Linked DNA regions of Homo sapiens: regions 1, 2 and 3 are each linked to region 4. Evidence: promoter capture Hi-C in human tissues and cell types (Jung and others, 2019). All regions are on one chromosome and are shown on one strand. Each heading gives the region's core, a stretch centred on a gene start or on the middle of the fragment in contact. The rest is flanking DNA. Distances are from core to core; before and after follow the strand shown.

Region 1 (3,539 bases), core at 125-2,624, 430 kb before region 4:
CCAGGCTGCCCATCTGGGAGAGATCATGGGGAGAGTTCTGAGTGAGGGAGTGAACACCAGATGGAAAGTCAAGCAACAGGTTTCTGTTATGAAGCATCTCACAGTGTAAATACCGGCACTGCCAGTAAACTCACCTTTGGGACTGGAACAAGACTTCAGGTCACGCTCGGTAGGTAACAGAAACCGTGAGGTAACTTAACTGTGTGTTCCTTTAAAACAGGGGATACTGCAGAGGGGATATCCTGGCTGGATGTAGTCCTTCCTTCCTTCCAGTGGGAGGTGATCTCACTGAGGACACATACCTGCATTCAGTCAGTTCTTGTGCTATTTTTATACCTGTTACGGAGGCTTTCCTTTCCACCTGTGAAAACAGAACCTCTCTGCTCCAAGCTTCTTCAGTCTTTATTACCCTATGTATTTCCTTTAGAACAGTGGTTTGGGAATTAATTTATCATCAGGACTTTGTCTCTGATGATATCACTCTGGGCAACAAAATGAAAGGGCTCTCAAATAGAGAACAGAGAGTCCTGAATACTCGGATAACTTTTCCAGAGTGATATGTGTTATGCGTAATGGGATGAAGTGGGCTAGAATGACCTTCCAATGACTATTTTGGAGACACACTAAGGAAACTTGCTTAACATCCTATATCCTTAACTTGTTAGAACATTGGTGAAGTAAAGCAAAATCTTGACCCTCTAAGAACATAAACAAATGCCAACTCCTCTCCCCCAAAGCACTGCCATGTTTCATTATGTGCAATTATGAAACAAATACATGATAATTTATATGAAATTACATAGATGAGTAGTTTGAGTATTTTGACCCATGAGTAAGATGCAAATTGTAGAAGTTCTCAGGTAGTTCTTCATAAAAAGTTGTCCCTGAAGACAAATAGTGTACCTGGGCATAATTTGTTTGCAGTGTTGGTTTATGCACCATTTGGGGACCTGTTTGAAAGCTGATTATGTCCCAGTGTGCCAATTTGGGGTCTCAATTAACTGTGCTCAGTGCACTGATAAGTGCCCATATTTACAGTCTAGAAGCATGACAAAATGACCCCATTTCTGTAGGAAAAGGAGAATGGAACTGTGTGTGGCGTGGTACTTGTCAGTGCTGCTCCCCCTTGTCCCTGCCATGCTGGGAGGTGGCTGCAAGTTTTCCCCAGGAGGTTTTTGTTAGAGCATGTATTACTGTGACAATAACAATGACATGCGCTTTGGAGCAGGGACCAGACTGACAGTAAAACCAAGTAAGTTGGGGGAATGGGTCAATCTTAAAAGCTGACCTGAGTGAGCAATGGTGCTGTTCTGGGCAGTTTCTGTGGGGTTAAGACACTGCCACTCCCAAGAGGATCTAAGTACCTGGTTTCTTTGTGCCTGAGACCCTGAGCTGGTTGGAAGTCTGTTAGTTGATGAATTCTGGCAATCTTAAGGATTAGGTCAAGAAGAAGTAGAAAATTTCACTGGTTTCTTCATTGGCTTGGCTCTGGATATATAAAAATGCTAAATATAAGCCGGGTGCGGTAGCTCACTCCTGTAATCCCAGCACTTTGGGAGGCCGAGGCGGGAAGATCATGAGGTCAAGAGATGCAGACCATCCTGGCCAACATGGTGAAACCCCATCTCTACTAAAAATACAAAAAATTAGCTGGGCATGGTGGCATGCGCCGGTAGTCCCAGCTACTCAGGAGGCTGAGGCAGGAGAATCGCTTGAACCCGGAAGGCGGAGGTTGCCGTGGGCCGAGATCGTGCCACTGCACTCCAGCCTGGCGACAGAGCGAGACTACATCTCAAAAAAAGAAAGAAAAAGAAATATGGCTGAGAAAGTGGCATGGTGCTCCTGGTCCCTAAAGTAGCCCCTGGGACCTCAATGTTGACCTCCTGTGCTGGGTGGGATGTTTCTGCCCAACCTTGCTATTGTGCCTCTGGCACAAGCATTCTGTCAGAACCCAGTGTCCTAGGAACAAAACAGGGGATTTACGATCAAGTTCAGATCTATCTGCACAGCCAGCTGTTAATTTTAGAGAACTGTCCTGACCTTGCAAAGGAACTGGAAACAGAGGCTGCAAGGTGGGGAGACTTCCACTAGAGGGGAAGGTGATCTCACTTGCTCAGCCTTCCCCTCCATCCTTCCCACCTGTTGATTATTGTAAAGCCCCATAGGACTGTGTGAATTATGGAGGAAGCCAAGGAAATCTCATCTTTGGAAAAGGCACTAAACTCTCTGTTAAACCAAGTAAGTGTTGGGGATTCAAAGTCCTGATTTATCATCAGTACTTTGTCACTCTGGGCAACAGAATGAAAGGGCTCTCAAATAGAGAACAGAGAGTCCTGAATACTCAGATAACTTTTCCAGAGTGATATGTGTTATGTGTAATGGGATGAAGTGGGCTAGAATGACCTTCCAATGACTGTTTTGGAGACACACTAAGGAAACTTGCTTAACATCCTATACCCTTAACTTGTTAGAACATTGGTGAAGTGAAAACAAAAGCAGTAAGTGCAACTAAAGTGCAATGCAGAGTGAGTGAGAAGAGACTTACCAACTCCTTTCTCTGTGATATCTTCCCCCCACCTTCACCCTTGAACCCCACAGAATTGTTTCTGTCCATGCCCCTGGCTGTTCCCAGTCCAGACCAGCACGTCGTTCTGCTGGACATAGGAAAACTCCAGACTTCATAACATGTCACAGGGCCCCCTCCCTCAGATGGCAGATCTCAATATTGATCACCCACATCACTGTGGGGAGTGGTGACCTTGTCAGCAATGGTCTCATGGAAGAGGGAAGCTTTATTTACACCATCAAGGGCCCATGGATGACCCACAGTCTGTGTGACTGCTGTGTGATTGGTTTTCAGACATTAGCTTTAATAGGAATCATAGGAGAAGGGACATGGTGGCTACTGCAAGGGGTTTTTTGTTTAGGGAGAACGCACTGTGGAACTCAAATTCCGGGTATGCACTCAACTTCGGCAAAGGCACCTCGCTGTTGGTCACACCCCGTGAGTTTTTGTGGTTTACTAATTGTCCTCTCTGGAAAGAAATCCAATGGGACCTGTTGAAACACAGCTGAATTTAATTGCTATGCTTAGCATGCAGTTGTTAACTATGTCTGATGTGTGAGCAAGATATGAATACATGTTTCCCTGGAGGCTGGATTTGGTTATCAGGTCTCGGGGCAGTTTGATAAATTGTACTAATGCTGCAATCACTGTTTTTCAAAGGTCCACAAAGCACGTTGTGGCTTTGGGAAAGGCAGAGATAAGAAGCAAAGCTTTGTGATAGAGACAGAAACAAGGCCATGAAAAGGGAAGCTACCAAAGCAATGGCATAGCCAAGGAAGTGTGTCCTCAACAGATAAGTGGCAAGGACCCTGTTGAGTTGATGCTTGTGTTGTCTGGTAGAATTAAAAAATAAGATGAGTGGGCTGGGCACAGTGGCTCATGCCTGTAATTCTATCACTTTGGGAGGCTGAGGCAGGTGGATAGCTTGAGGTCAAGAGTTCAAGACCAGCCTGATCAACATAATGAAACCCCA
Region 2 (3,088 bases), core at 550-3,049, 450 kb before region 4:
CTGGTAAGTGGAGGGGAGCATTGAATCCTCTGCCTGAATGTATCCATTTTATGCCAATGAATTGAGATATGGCTTCTTGCCCCATCTCTGCCACATTCAAGTCCTGCTTGGCTAAACAATGCTCACGGATGTGCACGTGTGCAGTGGGATGCAGCTTTTTCTAACCTCTCACAAAATCACGCAACCCCTTCACCAAACTGCTTGGTGGCTCTTCTGTGCCCTCACAGCCCTTCTAGTTTAGCAGTTAGAGGAAGACAAGTGCCCAAGGGCTTTCTCATTTTTAGGTCATTGTGGAAAGAGGAACGTTGGTGATATGTTTGCCTGCTTGGGAGGAAAATAATAATGATGATTTACTCATTGGTTTCTATATGCTAGTTGATGTGCTGCATTCTTTCTCTTATCACATTTAATCCTTATACCAGGTCTGTGAGTTAGGTGCTATTATTATCCTCATTTTATAGAAGAGATATATTTATATTTTATATTTCTATAGAAGCACAGAGATGTTGAATAACTTGTTCAAGCCGATGAAGTAAGAAAGAGAACCTGGAGTTTAATTCTTGGCACTCAGATTCCAGAGCTAAAAGCTTTTCAGTGAGGGGATTATGTCTAGAGGGAATGTCCCTGATGCTCTAGTCTCTAAGGTTGCTAAGATAATCGCTAAAGAACTGCGCTCTCAGCAAGTAAAGCCAGGGGTTGGTCAACAGGACCACGGTGACCCAGTTACATATTCTTAATCCTTACAACATCATCAAGCAGTTGCTGTTTTCCCCACTTTACAAGTGAGGAAACTGAGGTGTAGCAAGTTAGGAAACTTGTCCTGAGTTTTAAACTCAAGCCTACCTGCCCCAAAGCCTGAGCTCTTTTAAATTAACTGCAACTGCTGACCAGTTAGATTAACTAATTACTTAATTAATAAGATAACAACCTAACAGGCTGTAAGGTAAAAAAGTAATCAGATTTGTTCTATAGGTCCCCTCCCTTTTCGGGAATAGCTATACAATTGTATAATTTTATGCTTCCCCTGGGAGAGTGGGTGGAGCCCTGGCTCCCAGCCCATGATGGAAGGGTCTTGGCAGTATTTGTAAAGCAGTCTGTGGGGGTGTAACTCAGGGCGGATCTGAAAAGCTGGTCTTTGGAAAGGGAACGAAACTGACAGTAAACCCATGTAAGTCTGAATAATGCTTCCAAATTTCTCCCTGGAACCCTGATTTCCAAATTTTCCATTCTGTTTTATAACCCAGGTCCAAACCACAGCAGTCCCATTAATGGATTCCAGTGCAAAACAACTGCTGGTGTATTCCTACTACACGCAGGTCTCTGTTGTTTGCCCTCATGTGCTATTTTATCTAATAGCTGAGAATGACAGTACCAATGGAGCACTGAGTTAAGGAGTCAGACTGTTCGAAGGCTTCATTCTTCGTTATAATTGGTGAGATTTTCCATGGGACTAAGAGAAAATTGATTAACTCTCTGAGCCTCTATTTTCCTCCTCTGTAGAATGGGGGAGGCAGTTCCTGTTCCCATTTTACCACAGCCGGCGTGCTGTGAGGGGATGTTGGTACATTTCCAATAAGGGGACAATGAGTGTGAAGAGAAAGGAAGGCCCCAGGTGGTCCGTAAACTCTTCCACCAGTCCCACACTATAAACAGCTGGTTTTATCAGGGGGATTCTTGGATGACAAGTAAGCACTTAAGTAAATATCAAGGGGAGTCTGGGCAACTGAGTTTTTGTAGATCCTCGTGTCATTGTGTTATACTGGAGCCAATAGTAAGCTGACATTTGGAAAAGGAATAACTCTGAGTGTTAGACCAGGTATGTTTTAATGAATGTTATTTGTTTCCAAACATAAGCCACCATCCTTAGAAATTCAGTGAAAGATAACCGAATCTCCTGCCCAGTTATTAGCATCTTTCACCATGGGTCTTTCTGGAGAAAATGACAATGTGGGCAGCCCCTGACTGCAGCCCCTTTGGGACTGTTTCTTTAACACCTTTAAGTACTTGGGAATGTTCAGTGTGTTTTTGTTAATGTTGGAGATATGTGTCTGACAAATGGAATCTGAATTGAAGTTTTAGTGTGTAGGGGCAGAAAGCATTTAGAAAGGACAAAAGAAGGACAGATTAGACTAAAATACATACCAATGGCTGGGAGTATGCAATGCAACCCAATCCAAAAGGAAACAGTGAGATGTAGCCTGCTGATTAAACAACTGAGCCAGCACTCCGTGTCAGCTGACTTGTCTTCCCAAAGCTTCCATGTTGGTGCAATTAGGAAAAGAATTGTCTAATCCCCATAACTCAAAATCTTGGAGCCAAGCTAAATTGGGTAAAGCCGTGTAAGATTTTCTGGTACTGACACTGACTACAAGCTGATATTTAGGGAAAAGTTAAGATTGAAAGCAAATATTCAAATTAGTCAGAAAGACCACGAACTTCTGAAAACAAGCCCCAGGGTGCTGTTAACTGCTGCATTTCTAATTGGGTCCTCATGGAACATTTTCATCTCTGCCTTGTCTGAGCTTTCTGCACCAGAGAAGCCCCTTTTGATACCCACTCACTTCTGAGTCCCTCATTGAAAAGGTGGCAACTAAGCTTAGAGAAGGATTCCCTAATCCAAATGCAATACTTGGGGGAATATTTTGAGTATTGCTCCACCATTCTCAAAACAAACCTAATTTCAGTTAACTTGAATGTAGCTGAAATTTTGTTCCATGAGGGAATCTCTGCTTTCTATGATAATGCAAGCTCATTTCAAACAATTGTTTGGGATTTAACTTTTGCTCATAATTCCCAAAAGATACCAACTATTCAATGAGTATCTTAAAATAAAACTACTTTTATGACCAAATTATTATCCCCATTAGAATGGCTAGAATCAGAATGTCCTAGTATGTATTATGTGAACCCCATGCGACCTTCCTAAAGTTTCTTATGCCTAAAACAGCATAAGAGAGAAAAGCATTTCCACGCTAACCTGTGTGTTCACTGGTTAACAAAGGTCTAAAGAGCAGGTGAGTCAGCTGCTCCATTTCCAAACTGGACTGGACATTTACAGTCCTGCAGATACTAAAAATGATAATCAGGA
Region 3 (2,544 bases), core at 1-2,500, 330 kb before region 4:
CACTCCCTCCAACTGGCTGGACCACAGTTCTGTCCATCCATCAAGCCCCAAGCACACACAGGTTCAAGAGCAATAGATGCAAGAGCTCTGTGGGGTTGGTGGTGTCACTACCACCTGGGGCTAAAGGGAGCTGGGCACGCTGTTTCAAGGGATAAGACGGTCCCGCTTATTATGTACAGACTACATGGTCTGTAAATGTGATTGGAGTTGAATTCTTTAGAGTGTGTAGTGTTAAAGAAAAAGTGATTCTGACAGATTAAATCGGTAAAGATCATTCAAAACTACTGCAATAGGGGAGAGAGATCAGGCTCAACTCTTGAATACATTAAGGACTAGTGGGGATTTATAACCAAGCAGCATGGTGAGGGGGGTCAGTGGATAGAAAATTGCTGAGGAGATATCAAAGATAAAGGGAGATATCAAAGATAAAGGGAGTTCTTTTCAAACCAGTTTAACAGGATCATTGCTGAAGGAAGGTCAAAGGTGAGGGATGAGGAACTTGATCAAATATGAAGGAATTCTTACTAACTGATGTATGACTTACTCATCCTGACTTTGCAGGATTCTTGCTAAGACTGAGCTAGACATTTGGAAGACAGGCCAGGGGCCAAGGTCAAAGCCTAGTCAAGAAGAGGGCTCAGAAGGGCTTGCCTAAAGTTTGGTTAAGGAGAGAGTTGTTTTCAGTGGTCAGAGGGTTGTGAGAGGAAGGAGCTGAGGGAAGTTGGGGAGGGTTCGGGAATGGAGAGAATGTGAAGAGTGGTAGTCCAGGCAAAATGATGATGCCGTCAGGAAACACTTATTGACTTACCATGGGATTCTTTCCTCCCCAGGTCTCCAGAATAAGTTCCTGGCCAGATATGTATCCCTCCCAAACCAGAATAAGATCTGGACGGTGACTGTGAGCCCCGAGCAAAACGACCGCACCCCCTTGGTGATGGTGCATGGTTTTGGGGGCGGCGTGGGTCTCTGGATCCTCAACATGGACTCACTGAGTGCCCGCCGCACACTGCACACCTTCGATCTGCTTGGCTTCGGGCGAAGCTCAAGGCCAGCATTCCCAAGGGACCCGGAGGGGGCTGAGGATGAGTTTGTGACATCGATAGAGACATGGCGGGAGACCATGGGGATCCCCAGCATGATCCTCCTGGGGCACAGTTTGGGAGGATTCCTGGCCACTTCTTACTCAATCAAGTACCCTGATAGGTAATAAGGAGATGGCTCCATCCCTCGTGACCTAATTCCTGGCCTTACTGGGAACTTTCCAGTATTCATTTCCAAACTTCTCTCATTCCCAGGCGATTTAAGGGGCTATGGCAACTACCAGAGAATATAATGTGTCTTCTCCTCTTTCCGCCTTTAACATAGAGTTAAACACCTCATCCTGGTGGACCCATGGGGCTTTCCCCTCCGACCAACTAACCCCAGTGAGATCCGTGCACCCCCAGCCTGGGTCAAAGCCGTGGCATCTGTCCTAGGACGTTCCAATCCATTGGCTGTTCTTCGAGTAGCTGGGCCCTGGGGTGAGTAGCCTGTAGTATCTCCTTAAAGGAAGGCTATAACGTTCTAGAAGGCCCACAGTGTCTTTCCCACTTATTCCTAAAAAGTGGAAATTGGCCTAGCCTTGTTATTTAAAGCTGTTAATCTGAACCAGATCACTTTGTTCAAGGTTTGAGAAGGTTTTTTGTTTTTTTGTTTTGTTTTGTTTTTTTGAGACAAAGTCTCGCTCTGTCACCCAGGCTGGAGTGCAGTGGTGCGATCTCGGCTCACTGCAAGCTCCGCCTCCCAGGTTCATGCCATTCTCCTGCCTCAGCCTCCCAAGTAACTGGGACTACAGGCACCTGCCACCATGCCCGGCTAATTTTTTGTGTTTTTAGTAGAGACGGGGTTTCATCGTGTTAACCAGGCTGGTCTCGATCTGACCTCGTGATCCGCCTGCCTCGGCCTCCCGAAGTGCTGGGATTACAGGCGTGAGCCACCGCGCCTGGCCTGTTTTTTGTTTTTTGTATTTTTTCTCTTCATCGGCATGGGAAAAGCTTTTCCTATGCCAGGAACAGGTGGAGCAGAATAGCTACCAGAGTCTCACTCTATCTCCCAGGCTGATGTGCAGTGGTGTGATCTCAGCTCACTGCAACCTCCGCCTCCTGGGTTCAAGCCATTCCCCTGCCTGAGCCTCCTGAGTAGCTGGGACTGCAGGTGTACCCCACCACACCTGGCTAATTTTTGTGTTTTCAGTAGAGACGGGGTTTCACCATGTTGGCTAGGCTGGTCTTGAACTCCTAGCCTCTAGTGATCCATCCGCATCAGCCTCCCAAAGTGCTGGGATTACAGGCATGAGCCACCACACCCAATCTGTGTGAAATTTTATGAAAACCTGCTGGTGATTCATGCCCAGTAACCACTGGATCCCATCCCTGTGGTTCACCCAACACCTGCAGCAGGGAGAGGTCAGAACCAAAGCCTCCAACATAACCCACAGTGGCAGGCAAGCCCCTCTGAACCATGCACTTGTCCAGGCAAGCACCACATCTTCACCTGCTCTGTGTC
Region 4 (3,068 bases), core at 394-2,893:
AGTCTCACTCTGTCACCCAGGCTGGAGTGCAGTGGCACAGTCTCCACTCACTGCAGCCTTGACCTTCCCAAGCTCAACTGATCCTCCCTCCTCAGCCTCCTGAGTAGCTGGGACCACAGGCATGCACCACCATGCCTGGCTAATTTTTGTATATTTTATAGAGATGGGGTTTCACTACGCTGCCCAGGCTGGTCTCGAAATCCCGAGCTCCAGTGATCCTACAGCCTCAGCCTCCCAAAGTGCTAGGATTATAGGTGTGCACCACAGCACCCAGCCTAATAGCTTTAATTTCATTCTATCAGTTAATTTACCAAGTTATTGGGGATGGGAGGGGACCACTCTCCCCACCCAGCTTGGTTAGAAAAATCCAGCAGAGAAGTCAAACAGTCTTACCGCCTCGGAGTTCCTGCGAATCTTCTCCACTTTTGAGTCTGGACGAATCCATGGAGAAAGCTTTCCCACAATTAGCGTATTCCAGTCTGCACTCCCCCACCCAAGAAAGACAAATACTGAATAAGGTTCAGCACTTTACTTGTTCAATTTTTAGTTTTGGGAATCAAGAGTAGAAATGAGAGACAAAGGTTTTTTCTACATAGACATGGGATAGCCTGATGCAGAATAGAGAAGCAAGGAGAAAACAAGTTATCTATATCCCAGGGACTAACAAATATATCCAAGTCAGAAAAGGAGGAGAATGAGGGCCCCGATAAAGCAGAAGTTGTTATTGCCTCTAATAATTAAGGGGCATATGGGATGGTCCCTACCCCTTCCTGACAGCAGTAGGTCTGATCGTGTCTGGGGACCGGGCCGATTCTTAGCAGGTTCCTGAATGAACTCCCTCTTGAAACGCGGATGGAAGACAGGCATGCAGAGGAAATCAAACCTACAACCGCGACAGACCCAGAATCATGTAAAGACAGCAGCAGTGCCAGAGAGCCAAGCAACTGGATTTAGGCTATCTTGATTTTGCACAGCCCTTTCAGCTGCCATCAGTTCAGCCTACTAGGCTGCTGAGTTCAGACCACCTTGGGGGATATCAACTCTGCTGTACTGTGCCTCAATTTCTCCCTAAAACACAGCCATGGGACATATGAGTAAGGAGAAAATGATGGATATCCACAAGTAGAATTTTTTTCTCCTCAGGTGTCAGTATGTTTCCAAGACCATCACATCCAGATTTGCCCCAGTTCTGCCCATGCCTCCCCCGTCAAAATTAGCCTCTTCTCTCCCTTGCCCCCTAACACCTCCTCCCACTCCCAGACAATAATCGCGACCTCCAGGGCCCTTTAGAGTTTACCCAACAACTCTCCCAACTTTGGGACTCAGTGACCACAGGCCTCCCACAAGTTATTTTCCTCACGTTACTGGGTCCGAGGCTCCTCCCCTCCAAAGAGTAATAGTCTCTCCCCTCCTCATCCTAGCCGACCCCCTCACCCCTGCTTCTCCGGGATGACTAGTCTGCCCTTCTCCGTCCCCGAGTTCGGACCCCGCATTCCGCTCGTGGAGGTCCGGCCCTCACCCCTGCTTGGCCACAGCCCCTAGTGTGTCAGCTATTTCGGGGACGCAATTCAGGTCCCTCCCGCTGGACACGCGGCTCCCACCAGCACCCCCGACCGCCATCGCCGCCATCTTTCTCCTCGCGCTGTCCACGCCGGGATTCCTTGATACTAGTAGCCAATCACAAAGTCAAACTAGTGCCCCAGAAGGCGGGACGAGTCGCCTTAACAACCAGAGCGTCTGCCACAGCTCCCGAACAGGAGGGATGGGGAGTGGCTTTTCCTGCCAATCCGCGGGCTGCACAGTGGCGTACGGCATGGATCCACCAATCTCAGGGTCTGGTTCCTGACGAACTTCAATCTCCCAGAATGCTTAGTCTATCTGAAGAACGCCGTTGAGAGACTACACCGCCCATGAAACCCTGCAGTATAACCTTGAAGTACCATCACGGAGAGAAACAGTGCCATCTCAGGGCCAGTGGCGCAATGGATAACGCGTCTGACTACGGATCAGAAGATTCCAGGTTCGACTCCTGGCTGGCTCGGTGGGGTTCCTCGCAGCTTCGCTGCGTGAGCATTTTGTAATTTTCCTTTCCTTTCGCAGCTTGATGCTTCTTTATTATCTTCACGCTTTCATTATCAGATCCTGAGTCGGTTGGGTTATGCAGCCATGTAATGTCAGCTTTTCCCGTAACTACCCTCAAAAGTGTTTTTCTTGTGTCATTATTTACGTCCATATGAACACTGAGAAAACTGGGTTAATGGCTGGTGCTATTAAAATGAGCTTTGTCACCTTACTATGTTACATATTAAAATAAACTGCTAACTCAGCTACTACTTCCTAGTGATTCTAGGAAGTAGTGTTTTGTGTTTCAAACACAAAAGGTGTAAATAAACGCCTAAACACACACACACACCTCAAGATAGAGAAAAGGAATTCATTAATTACAGTGGGCAGCAGTCATGAAATTGGCTGGCATGGAGGCCAGAGAGAATCTACATTTTCTCATGTCATTAGCTGCTAGAGATGGAAAGGAAGGAAGCAAGGAAAGACATAGGGAGGTAAATGGGAACTCCAGAAGGCAGGGGGCCCACTGGTGTTGAGGGCTCGGCAGCAAGGATGGAGAGGAGAACACGGTACAAGAGACCCCACGCAGGCGCCGCTGGCAGAACTTAGGGACCGACTGGCAAGGAGTCCTGAGAAAGCAAAGTAGGGGGTGATGCCTAGGATTCTGTCCATGCAGTGAGCAAGAAATGCGGAAAGAGGGTTTGGGAAATCAGGGTTTGGGTTTGGTCATGCTGAATTGAACGTCTAGGGGGCGCTGTGTAATAGAAAGTTGGATGGAGGTCGCTAGAAGAAAAGAACTGAGGCCATGCGACTGAGATCACCATAGCTCGTTGGGGACAGAGCCATAGGAAATACGAAAAGGGTGTGGGGTAGGATAAGTTCTGGGGAACCCTGGGTGCAATGCAAGTGCCCCAAAAGAATGAAAGCCGGAAAACCGGCCGGGCGCGGTGGCTCACGCCTGTAATCCCAGCACTTTGGAAAGCGGAGGCGGGTGGATCTCCTGA

Evidence for each region. Contacts are between HindIII fragments. The study calls those that stand out against the background at their distance.
Region 1: a contact is called between a fragment that was not itself captured here and the fragment with the promoter of PRMT5 in region 4, in 1 of the 25 tissues and cell types used here (heart right ventricle).
Region 2: a fragment that was not itself captured here is called in contact with the fragment with the promoter of PRMT5 in region 4 in 1 of the 25 tissues and cell types used here (thymus).
Region 3: a contact is called between a fragment that was not itself captured here and the fragment with the promoter of PRMT5 in region 4, in 1 of the 25 tissues and cell types used here (mesendoderm cells).

Annotation. Positions count from the first base shown.
Region 1 is chr14:22,494,715-22,498,253 of GRCh38, forward strand. It overlaps TRA, TRAJ44, TRAJ43, TRAJ42 and TRAJ41. Among named protein-coding and RNA genes, the nearest start is that of TRD-AS1, 14 kb to the left of the region's middle. The HindIII fragment of the contact is 3,317 bases long and covers 1-3,033 here.
Region 2 is chr14:22,477,767-22,480,854 of GRCh38, forward strand. All of the region lies in intron 2 of TRD-AS1 (TRD antisense RNA 1), which reads right to left. It also overlaps TRA, TRAJ58, TRAJ57 and TRAJ56. Among named protein-coding and RNA genes, the nearest start is that of TRD-AS1, 3.6 kb to the right of the region's middle. The HindIII fragment of the contact is 3,170 bases long and covers 215-3,088 here.
Region 3 is chr14:22,602,560-22,605,103 of GRCh38, forward strand. It overlaps ABHD4 (abhydrolase domain containing 4, N-acyl phospholipase B), which reads left to right. Exons shown (of 7, transcript NM_022060.3): 3 at 831-1,203; 4 at 1,366-1,520. Among named protein-coding and RNA genes, the nearest start is that of ABHD4, 5.5 kb to the left of the region's middle. The HindIII fragment of the contact is 4,371 bases long and covers 1-2,544 here.
Region 4 is chr14:22,927,733-22,930,800 of GRCh38, forward strand. PRMT5 (protein arginine methyltransferase 5) reads right to left here and starts at 1,644. Exons shown (of 17, transcript NM_006109.5): 1 at 1,520-1,644; 2 at 765-883; 3 at 394-479. The coding sequence starts at 1,629. It overlaps PRMT5-DT (PRMT5 divergent transcript), which reads left to right and starts at 1,877. Exons shown (of 3, transcript NR_110002.1): 1 at 1,877-2,020. It overlaps TRR-ACG1-3 (tRNA-Arg (anticodon ACG) 1-3), which reads left to right and starts at 1,969; the gene lies at 1,969-2,041. RefSeq lists an enhancer at 1,488-1,597 and a silencer at 2,008-2,097. The HindIII fragment of the contact is 24,447 bases long and covers 1-3,068 here.